Linked DNA regions of Homo sapiens: all the other regions are linked to region 1. The links are contacts of gene promoters, found by promoter capture Hi-C in human tissues and cell types (Jung and others, 2019). All regions are on one chromosome and are shown on one strand. Each heading gives the region's core, a stretch centred on a gene start or on the middle of the fragment in contact. The rest is flanking DNA. Distances are from core to core; before and after follow the strand shown. Region 1 holds the start of KIAA1671. Region 2 holds the start of LOC124905096 (a long non-coding RNA gene). Region 3 overlaps SEZ6L (seizure related 6 homolog like). Region 4 overlaps SEZ6L (seizure related 6 homolog like).

Evidence for each region. Contacts are between HindIII fragments. The study calls those that stand out against the background at their distance.
Region 2: a contact is called between a fragment that was not itself captured here and the fragment with the promoter of KIAA1671 in region 1, in 1 of the 25 tissues and cell types used here (mesenchymal stem cells).
Region 3: a fragment that was not itself captured here is called in contact with the fragment with the promoter of KIAA1671 in region 1 in 1 of the 25 tissues and cell types used here (lymphoblastoid cells).
Region 4: a fragment that was not itself captured here is called in contact with the fragment with the promoter of KIAA1671 in region 1 in 1 of the 25 tissues and cell types used here (dorsolateral prefrontal cortex).

What each region holds. Positions count from the first base shown.
Region 1 is chr22:24,951,236-24,954,049 of GRCh38, reverse strand. It overlaps KIAA1671, which reads right to left and starts at 1,334. Exons shown (of 13, transcript NM_001145206.2): 1 at 1,278-1,334. RefSeq lists a silencer at 1,268-1,517. The HindIII fragment of the contact is 5,810 bases long and covers 1-2,814 here.
Region 2 is chr22:26,360,511-26,363,324 of GRCh38, reverse strand. All of the region lies in intron 12 of SEZ6L (seizure related 6 homolog like), which reads right to left. It overlaps LOC124905096 (a long non-coding RNA gene), which reads left to right and starts at 2,300. Exons shown (of 3, transcript XR_007068038.1): 1 at 2,300-2,814. The HindIII fragment of the contact is 5,861 bases long and covers 1-2,814 here.
Region 3 is chr22:26,334,366-26,337,179 of GRCh38, reverse strand. The region is part of intron 9 of SEZ6L (seizure related 6 homolog like); the gene reads right to left. Among named protein-coding and RNA genes, the nearest start is that of SEZ6L-AS1, 89 kb to the right of the region's middle. The HindIII fragment of the contact is 3,866 bases long and covers 1-2,814 here.
Region 4 is chr22:26,221,968-26,224,781 of GRCh38, reverse strand. All of the region lies in intron 1 of SEZ6L (seizure related 6 homolog like), which reads right to left. Among named protein-coding and RNA genes, the nearest start is that of SEZ6L-AS1, 23 kb to the left of the region's middle. The HindIII fragment of the contact is 8,757 bases long and covers 1-2,814 here.

The DNA.
Region 1 (2,814 bases), core at 85-2,584:
GGCCATAGACTGAGGGAGGCACTGATACTTATAGAGCCCCTACCTGTTTCATACCCTTCATTCCGATCCATCCTAGGCCAAGCCCATTTTGCCCAGAGGGTCCCCATCTGGATTCAGATAGGTTAAGTGTTTTGCCCAAGGTCACAAAAAAGGTGCAAAGAAAGTGTTTTTCTTTGTGCAACAGGTACAGTCCTTTCCCTTCCAAAAGATAATGGCTGCTCCTGGCTAGAGAAAGTTCAGTCCCGGCAGGCAGGAAGCCCTAGCCACCTAGGCGTCGCGCGGTGGAGGTCACACGCCTGCTCCGGGACTGGACAAACAGCAGGGTTTTAAGGCGCGGCGTCCCCACTCCCAGGCGAGTTTGTGCCAGCAGGGTGTGAAAAGGTCAGGCTCGGGTGGGGGTCAACGAGCCGCTTCCCATCCCGAGGGCCCCACCCGTGAGCCCGGGTGGGCCGCGCCGCCATCGGGGCGGGGACCACGCGGGCCTGCCTGGTAACAGGGGGACTGAGGCTTAATCCCATCAGGGCGCCTCCGCCCTGGGAAGACGAGCGGAGGGGGGGCGCAGGCCAGGCCGAGAGGACGTGTCCGGAGCCTCCGCGTCCGAGGGGCCCCGCGCGCCGCCCCTCTCACGCCCCCCGAACCACCGCGCTGTCCTCCGGGCTCCCCTCGACCAGGGTTCCGTCTCGCTCGCCGCCCTTGCTTCCCACTTCCACCTCCGGGGCCTCCAACCCGCACAAATGTCCAGACCCTAGCAGCTCCAGGCTGAGTAACCCAGATCTCCAGCGATCCCTCAGCTCCTAGCCACGGGATCTCTCTGAATCCATTCCCAAGGCTCAGGCTGGCATGGGAGGAGATTGATCCTCTCGCTCCCAGTCTCGAATCACCCTTCGCCGTCACCCCTGACTGGGGATCCAGTGGGACCCCAGGCCTCCAGCGCCCGATCCCCTCCAGGGATCGACTCCCAAGTCGCCAACCAGGTGGCACGTGATCCATTGGTTGCCCTGTGCGGGATCTTCCCGCGGGATCCACTCTCAAGTCTCGGGAGACGGATTCCCCGGCTCCCAAACCGGGATCCTCCCTCCCTGCAGACCCGGAGTCTGGGGAAATCCTCCGGCTCCCCGCCTCTTCCCCGGCCAACTTTGCCAACTTTTCTCCCGGGGCCTCGGCCGGGCAGAAACTTGGCGGCCCTCGCCAGCCGCCGTCACCCCCAGCTACCTCGTCGGCCGGGGACAGGAGGCGGCCAGCCGGCCCCCACTGCCCGCAGCCGCTGCGCAACCTACCGTGGAGCCACCGCCAGCCCGCGCCGCGCCGCCACCTGCCCGCAGCCCGCGGCACCTGCCCTGGGAGCCCGCAGCCCCGCGCAGCCTAGCCTGCTGGGGGCGGGGCCTCGAGCGGGGACGCGCCCCCGTCACCATGGGAACTGCCGCCGGCCGCGCCTGCGCGGAGGGGAGCAGAGCAGGCAGGACCCGAGTCCGCAGTGGCGCCTGGGCCTGGGACCTCTCCGGCGGGTCAGAGGTCACGACTCGCTTGGACACCCCTGCCGGAAGCGCTCCCGCCCCTCGAGGCCCGACCCCGCTCTGTCCAATTGGGAACTTTGCTCCGGGTACCCTCCCGCGTTCCCTGGATGTTCCCCAGTCACCAGCCAGGATCCCCCGCCACCGGCACCGACCCGCTGCCCAGCCGGCGACCCCGAGAGCCTAATGCAACCCAGGATTTCAGGAGGCGCTCCATAAATGTGGGCCCACTGACTTGCCTGGGCTGCTGGTGCCGGCCCGGGGGCGGGCAAGGTCTGTGCGCGGTGCTGGCGCCTCCTCGCGCCAAGCAAGGGCACTGCACCTGAGAGTTCGCTGGAGCGCCTACTGTGTGCGCATCCTCCTGCCATTATGTTGTGGGTGTGAGTTGTGGGGTAATGGGTACAGGAACTTGTGGACAAGTTGAGAGAATCGTAGGAAGTCGCCTCTGAAAGAGAAAATACCTGTTCTGTTATCCGTTACTCATTTCATTCAGCAGATCTTTATTAAGCACCTATTGCATGCTGGGTGCTGGAGAACCCAGTGGTGGGCAGCTGGCAAAATCCAGGCTGTTGTGCAGCTTACAGATATTCAAACAAATAATTTCACGAGTATATCAAATTGAATCTGTGACATGTGCTCCTATGGGAAATGTACAGAGCATGAATAACTGGAGGACCTAAAATCAATGTGCCTTTATTATAAGCAAGATAGACCTCAATAAAAAAAGAGAAAGAAAAGGACATCACAGGCTGCGCACGGTGGCTTGTAATCCCAGCATTTTGGGAGGCCGAGGCGGGTGGATCACCTGAGGTCATGAGTTTGAGACCAGCCTGGCCAACGTGGTGAAACCTCGTCACTACTAAAAATTACAAAAATTAGCTGGGCGTGGTGGCGGATGCCTGTGATCCCAGCTACTCGGGAGGCTAAGGCAGGAGAATGGCTTGAACCCGGGAGGTGGAGATTGCAGTGAGCCAAGAGCGCGCCACTGCACTCCAGCCTGGACGACAGAGCAAGACTCCATCTCAAAAAAAAAAAAAAGAAAAAGACATCACATTGTGTGGCTTCAGGAGGATTGGTGGGGAGACTTCTTGCCTCATTTTGCTCTTAAATTGTTGGGTGTGTGTAAGAAACAAGGGTAGCTCCTGTTCTCCACACCGTTTGCACTGCAACCCTTTTGAAGGTCTGATCATCACCATCAGACCCAGGCAGGGTAAACCCTGTTTACCAAACAGCAGCCCGAGAACCCCCAACTGACTTGTGTACAGTGCTGGAACCCAGGAATTGGGGGGCAGAGGTCCCATGA
Region 2 (2,814 bases), core at 217-2,716, 1.4 Mb before region 1:
ACAGTACAGTATAGGTCCCAGCTAGAACCCTTTTCTCTGTGAACATGACTTACATTTGGGCTCTACTCAGCTTGAGTAATGTCAACTGAAACAATAGTTACCAAGCTTTCACAGATTAGGAGATTTCAAATAATAATTTAGATTTCTGGATTCTTCTGAAACATTAGAAGATTGGGCAATACTGGGTTCACATTGTTACATGGCAATGACTGGCTGGAGTTGAGTAATGGCTTTCCCTGTTAGACCAGGAATATTCTTTACTTTAGCCCCAGTCTCTGCCACTCCCTATTGTCTTTCACGTGGTACTTGCCTGGCCTTGTAGGCATTTAAATGTATCACTTTTCCAATGAAAAGATGAATGAATCAATTGATGAGTATGTTTTAGTCACAGTAATCACCATACATGAAGAATCGGGACTTTGATCTCCTCCAGTGGGTGGACGGGTAGGAATCTGGCTTCACTCTTGAGGTTGAAGGGTTTTCCTTTATACTTCAATAGCAGTCTTCCCTGGGAGTTATGAACTGTTTCCTTCCCACCCTTGAAATCTAGCCCAGAAGTCAGCCTGTGGGAAGAGACTTCCCAGGTCACTGTGCAGCTGGAGTTGCATCTTGGATGACACCATAGATAGCTCTGGCGGGCACCCATGCATTTATTCAGAAAATATATCTTGAGTGCTTACTTCATGCCCAGCAATGCGTCCAGCAATGCGGTGAGGAGGTGAATCAGACATCATTCCTGTCCTCTAGAGCTCATGGTCTGCATGCTCTAAGGGGCCAAGCAAATGTGTAAATGGACAATTTAATTAAAAATGGCAGGTGCCATAGAAGAGAGAAACTCAGAAGACCCTGGGTGGCTGCAGAAGACCCCTAAAGTAGCCAAGGGAAGGGGCTGTTGGAATAGTTGAGCGAGAGAGGCAGAGATTTTGAATGTAGCTCCCTTTCCACAAGACTCCCAGAGATGAGGCAGTAAGTGGTTCAGCTGACACTTGGCCAAGGCTAATCCTTCCACTAATTGAAGGTCATCTGTATACTTGAAGTTTGCCCCCTGGCATTCCAGAGCAGGATGGATATGCAGCCAACGCTTCTGTGTTTGAGCCCAGAATCAAATCACAAAGCCTTGCTTAAGTCAATCATGGGGCTCCCTCCAAGGCAGCACTCTATTATGTGTTTATGGATGAGACCTAAGAGGGCTGGCAAGGAATCATTCACCCTGCAGAGCGTGCCTTGGGGATGGACTGTAGGAAGGGAGAATTTTATTTTTATTTTTAAAGCCTGTGCTTTGATGTATTTTTTTTTAATGCAGGGTGGGTCTGCATTACTTTACAATAAGCATAGATGGTATAATGAACAGAACCCAGTGCCAATCATATTCTAATGATTCCTCTGAAAATATCCTGAGGAAGTCTTTGGTCCTCAACCCAGCTGAGCTCACTGCTGCATCCTTGGCAACCTGGTACAGGGTAGGTGCCCAGTAAATATTTCTTGAAAGACCTCACATCATTTCATTTAAAGGCAAATTGCAGAGCAGGAGCGCTTGGGTTCAAGTGTCCAAGGGCTCAGGATGCACATCCTAGTTGTATGTCTGTGAGCACAACTGACCTCTCTGAGCCTCAGTTTCCTCATCTTTAAAATGGGCTGTCTCAAGGTGTTGTTATGAGAATAAAACAAGCTCACGCACATGAGATGGGCAGCATATAGTGAGCACCCAATATACACTGATTATTTTTATGGCTTTTAAAACTCTTGTCATATTTTCATACCAATTGTACTGTTGTTCACTTAATACATATATATATATATATATTTTTTTTTTTTTTTGAGACAGAGTCTCACTCTGTCACTCAAGATGGAGTGCAGTGGTGTGATCTCAGCTCACTGCAACCTCAGCCTCCTGGGTTCAAGCGATTTTCCTGCCTCAGCCTCCCGAGTAGCTGGGACCACAGGCATGCGCCACCAAGCCTAGCTGATTTTTTTTGTTTTTGTATTTTTAGTAGAGACGGGGTTCCACCATTTTGGCCAGGCTGGTCTCGAACTCCTGACCTCAAGTGATCCATCCGCCTCAGCCTCCCAAAGTGCTGGGATTACAGGCATGAGCCACCACACCTGGCCTATGTAATATATTTTTAAAAATTTCTATTGACTTGTTTTTCTATTTAGATTGCACAGTATAATTTAGCCTCACTCTAAATAATAATAGTCTTATAATCAGAGGTTTCACATGTCAGTTTTAATTTTTCTAATTTTCTTAAGCCAAACGACTCACAAAAAGTTCATCTGGACACTGTTTAAAGCCGCGTGGGTATCCCCGTAGTGTATCTAATACTCCTACTCCTCGGGAAGTGCAGCCCGGTGCACAACACTTTATAGCTTTTGAACTCCCAGAGTCCAGAATACACTCTCCGTGTTTTTTTTGTTTTTGTTTTTGTTTTTTGTTTTTTTTTCAGCCCGTAGACTCTGTTCCTCCAATGTTCCATCCCTGTGCTAGGAGCTGGGTATGAAGCAGTGAATTAGAGAATCACGTTTTCTGTTCTCCCAAAACTCAGTCGAATGGGGAACAGAGAACAGTTACCGGGTCATTACAGCCCAGTGTGGTCTCAGCTGTGCTGGGGAAAGCGCACAGGAGAAGCCTCACTTTCCCGCCCCCTGGTCGGGGAGGCTTTTTCTTGATGACGTTGGTGGCTCCCTTCAGAGAACACAAATCCCTACTGTATTACCTGCAGTGCAGAAAAATGACCAGCAGGTGGCAGTGGCGACACAAAAGAATTCCCCCATGAACCTTTCCTCGGAAATTTTCTTTCATAAATTAACAGATGA
Region 3 (2,814 bases), core at 144-2,643, 1.4 Mb before region 1:
TTTCATGGAAGGCATGTGATTTTTCTGAAATTTCTTGTCTGTGAATCAGCCTTAATATTCCTCGTCTATGTCATGAGCTCTGGGGATGAGGTGAGGCAGGCAGAAGGTCTGGATTCAAATTCCAGCTTCAGCATTAGCACCTGGGCAAGCTCGGTGATGTCATTTGAATGTTATGTTGTTATATTCCACTTTCATTTTTGGCATCATCATCGTTACCATCACCATCATCACTATCGTCATCATCATCATCACCACCATCATCCTTCTTTGGATTTCTGTTTATGCCAAATGACATCAGATGATTTATGTCAGTGGTTTTCAACTAGGGGCAGTTTTCCTCACAGGTGACATTTGGCAATGTCTGGAAACATATTTTTCCTAACTAGGTGGGTACCATGGGTGAGTGGAGGCCAGGGATGCTGTTAAACATACTACAGTGCACAAGACAGCCCCTCAACCCAAAAAAGTATCTAGTCCAAAATGTCAACAGGGCTAAACTCGAGAAACCATGACTTATATAAATGCACATTGTAAACGGTGTGCAACAGACCATTAAATGCAATTTCTTCTGTTGTTCTGAAATTTTAGCAGTGTCTCCCTAAGCTAAGAACAAGACAATAGGTGCAGTGGATTTCCACTTTCCAAAGAGAGATACTTGGCTGTTGATTGCATTTGGATTCTCCAGATGCAGAGATCAAGCAAACATACAAATGCCTTTTGAAGTCTGGCTTGTCTGGGAGGCCATCCTAGGCAGCACTGGTGGGGAAATGAGACAAGAAGAAGGGAAGGACTCAACGAAGAGGGGATTGATGAGCAGGTTTCACTGTGCATTTTGGGTTCAGTCCTGCAGGAATTTTAGAGATGGTGCAGAACACATCCATAGGGAGAAGGAGCTGGGGTATTTATCCTCCAGTTTCCATCCTTTATTGACTGAGGGATGCTCCTGGATGTGTTGAGTCCCTAGAACTTCTGGCTTGCCCATGTGACCACATGGCATCAGAGAAATGCTGGAGAAGTGGGAAGGGCCTTGCAGTAGGAAGTCATTATGGGCACATGGTGGCAAGTATTGCACGGCTTAGACAGAGTACCAATGGCATCATCTACTAACATCGATGCAGCTATTCCAGTCTGAGCCCTTCTTCCCACCTCTAGCTTATATAAGAGAAGGAAAAGAAGGCACTGGCCATTGAGGAGGCTGGCAGGAAGGACTGCCTTGAGGGGAGTGGTCACTGTGGGGCATCATAGGAGGGAGGGTCGAATGTGTATCACCCTCACATTAAGCCTAGTGAGGAGGGCTTCAAGGGAACTCTTGGTGACTTGGCAGGTGTCTTTCTTTTGTGGCTTGGATAACAGTAGCTGGATTTGATGCTCACCAAAAGAAATGATAAAATCAGACTGGGGATGCCTGCCTGCCTCTGGTCAGAGCAAGGAGAATAAAAGCAGATATTGACAGTGAGCATCCCATCACTGATGACAGTAGGGATATGATCTATGTTTCCTGGGTCTAGTTGTGAACCTTGCAGGCAGAAGCCAACTATAGGTCTCCTTAAAAGTGGCTTCCTACTGAAAGGGTGATAGAACCCCAGCAAAAGGGAAAGTTAAGAGCAGCTGTGCTCAGGAGACTTTCACACATTTAATATCCTATTAAAGACAGAAAAAAAATCAGCATTCTATATATTCTATAACATAACAGTGTAGCCAAGTTAGAGTCTCCTATTCCCTTACCTCCCATGCCCTTTGCAAAATTCCCAGCCAGAGGAGCACAGTTGAGGGAGGGATGAAGTTTCAAAATGAATGATACTTAGGGTTATAAGATTTTCAGACTGGACTGCACTTATTGTGACCAGAAGACCTATGAAAACGCAGCTTTCACCCAGAGGAAAAAAATAATATAGGATGTGCCTGAAGGGTCACTGGGAGAAATAATCAAGTTACTCTCTGCCTCATTCTTCTGAATCTTTTTTGACAGACTGGTTCCAATTATGTACACAGAGTTTGGCAATTTAGTTTTTTCCCCTCAATGCAAAGAGGAGCTTACATTTTCACTTGCTCATCCATGTATTTACCAAGTGCATCTAGCATCCCTGGAATCGGACCTTTGTAAGCAACCGAGATGAAAATGTGTTGAGTTCACTGCAGGGAGAGCCACAGGGCAGAGTGTGGTTTTCCGCTGAGGTCTGAATTGAGATGTCAGCTAGATACGATCCAAGGAGGCGCTAGGAAAACGGGATGGCAGTTTGACTCCAGGATGAAGGGGAGATGGAGAGATGCTGGCAGGCAGGCAGGCTTGGTCTGACTGTGACTGGGAGTGGCAGGATCCCTTCTGGGAGGATCCTGTAGGACCACAAAGCTTCCCAAGACCAGACCCTGCCCACTCTGGCCCTTCTCAGGTGCCAGAGTGAAAGGCTTTCCACAGGCACAAAGTGTGAGCTCCTGGCAGAAGATCTCAGCTCCCATCTCCCCCTCTACATCCACCTCTTTCTTCTTGGTCACTGTCGCAGGCTATCCTCAGACCATCATCACCTTTCTCTTGGGCAGTTGGACAGCACCTCGGTGGTTTCCTGACTTCATCCTCACCTGGCCCTGATACTCCTCCCCTTAGCAGCCAGATGAATCTTTCCAGAAGGTAAATCAGATCTGCTCCCTCAACAGATCAATGAATAAGCAAAATACGGTCTATTTGTGCAGCGGAGTTATTATTCAGCCATAAAAAGGAATGCAGCACTGGCCCACGCCGCAGCACAGGTGAACCTCGGAAACATGACATGCAGTGAAAGAAGCCAGCCACGAAAAGCCACCTGTTGAATCACTCCA
Region 4 (2,814 bases), core at 119-2,618, 1.3 Mb before region 1:
TAATCTAGGCAGCATCCTTGATTGCCTACCTTCTCCTTTACCCTCCACAGCCAGTCTATTAGCACTTCCTGCCAGCTTGACTTCTAAAACATATCCTGTATCTGTATGCTCTTCTCCATCACCACTGCCACCACCCTAATCCTATGTCAAACCTCTGTAGACTCTTATCTAGACAACTGCAATAACTTCCTACCAGTTTCCCACTTTGTCTTTCTGAAGTCTAGTGGCCAGAGTGAGTTTTACACAATCCTATGAAGCCACTCCCTGCTCTAATCCCAACAAAGACTTCCCATTACACATAGAGTAAGCCCAAACTCCTTGCCATGGGCTTAAGGGCACTAGATGATCTGTGTCTGTCTCCTTCTCTGATAGCTCATATTTCTCTCCCCCTTTACTCCTGCACCCAGTAATAGAGAACAGAAGCTGAGCCAGGCCCTGCCAGGCTGACTCCTAGTTCAGGTCTCCTTCTGCCCCATACCCCTCGTTGGAGTAATAGGTTTCCTCAAATCTCCCTAACTCCCTCTTGGTTATAGAACCTCTGAGAGAGCCAGCATGAGTTGAATTCTTCATTTCTTCTTCTAACTTGGTTTCTGCCTCCAAAGCTCTTTCATGATTTACAGACTCCTAGAATTAATTGTCAGCAACAGCCGGTGTTATTAGGGATTTTTCAATTGGCTCCAGGATTGTGTATTAATTCAACTTTTTTTTTCTCCTTGAGACATTTTATTCAATGACGATAACCCACTGAGTCCACCATTGATCCCTTGATGCTTAATAACGAGGCCAATTTAATAGTAATTAGTTCCAATATTGAATATATTTTCATTAAAAGCAAAAATGATGGGTCAAATTTAGTAAGTGATGAATTATCAGATCCAGACTGTACCAGCTTTGTTTTACAAATGCCTAGTATTCCCCAAACTCTCCAATCTACCACCTTCTCCCTATCCGGGGGCCTTAATTATAATAACAATTATGATGACAATGACCATGATGATAATAATTATTACTGTTGATATTCATTGAGGGCATTTCATGTACCAGGCACCATACAAAGTGTTTTATATGCATTATTTGATTTAAAATGCACAATAATCCTTTTAAGTGGGTTCTATTGTTATCTCCACATTTTGGAGGAGGAAACTGAGTTCCAGAGAAATGAAGGGATTTTTTTTTCTCAGGGACACACAGCTAAAAATCAGCTGGGCCAAGATTCAAACTCAGGCTGATCATAAATCCACATTCTTAGCTCCCAAGCAATACCTCTTACCACTGAAGGGGAGGCTGAGGAGCCACAATTTGTGCTTGAAATTAAACTTGTGAAATCCAATTTACTCTACAATATAATTAAAAATAGACTGTGTTCAATGCAAGGAAATTTAGTGGCTTATGTTGCAAAATATATGGAGTATATGGAGGATTCATCTATGAGGCAAGAACAACACTTGAAATATCATTAATTCTGGAATGAGACCTACCTGGACTTGGAGTCTAATTTTATTTCTTGGTAGCTGCATTATCTTTGACAGGAGACTTGGTTCACATAGAACCTATTTTCTGTCTTCTACTCACAACATCTAACACCACCGTGATATACCCATTTTGTGGGTGGAAGACAGAACAGCTAAGGAAAGAATCCTGTGACTACCACGTTTGGGGTGAGCTGCTACAACTCCTACGGTGGAGGTGGCCACAAAGATGTCACAACAAAAGTAAAAAGTTCACATCTTACAGATCAGGAATTCTCAACCTAGGCGCTATTGACATTTGGGGCCAGATAATTTTTTTTTTTTTTGTGGGAGGCTGTCCCATGCATCATTGTATGTTAACCAGCCTCTCTGGACTCTACACAGTAGATGCCGGTAGCAAACACCCCAGGTGTGACCCCCAGAAATGTCTCCAGACATTGTCAGATATCTCCTGGTGGGCAAAATTGCCCCTGGTTAAGAACCACTGTGATGGATAAAATTCTAACAACAGCAAGTCATGGGCCAGAGATTTCCTACTGGGTTCTAGCATATAATATATCCTGCTTACATAAATGAAAAAAATTTTTTTATGTAAACCCATTTTCAAATCATTTCACATGTATGTGGGCGTTCCCCCCGGTTTTTCCCTATGATATTGAGATTTGTCTTATACACCAGAGGATTTTGCTGTTCAGCAAACATGATGCTTTCTCTCCAATCCTCAGTTTTTTTTCTCCAGAATGATAGGCATGGTAATACCTAGCCTTTAGGATTGCTAGAAGGTCCTATGTCAAGTGGCTAGAACACAAGAAGGGCTCAATAATGCTGGTCACCTCTTCCCCTTGCAGAGGCAGCAATAACTCCTTCCAGAGAAAAAGGTGGGTGATGCAATGGAGTAAAGGCAGCTGGCCAGTGAGGTCTTCGGTTTGTGTTTCAGCCCTGTCACTGCCTTGCAGTGTGACCTTGCATAAGCCACTTAACCTCTCTGTGCCTCACTTGCTCCATCTGTAAAGTTAGGAAGTTGGACTAGAAACCCTCAAAGGCCCTCCAAGTGCTGCACTCTAAGTTCCTGTGAGGCTGGGCATGGCAGCAGTTCCCTGAGCATGCACCAGAATCATCTAAGGAGTGGGCTAAAATGCAGATTCCCAGGTTATAACTCGAGAGTTTCTGATTTAGTAAGTCTGGAATGGATCCCAGAAATCGTCATTTCTAAACAGCCACCCACTGCCACCCCAGGCGATTATGTGGAGGGAGTACCGGGCCCATGTTCTGGGAAACTGTCTTCTCTTCTATTGATACCTTGACAGGGAAATAGTATTAGGAGCTCCCACAAGCTTGTTGACAA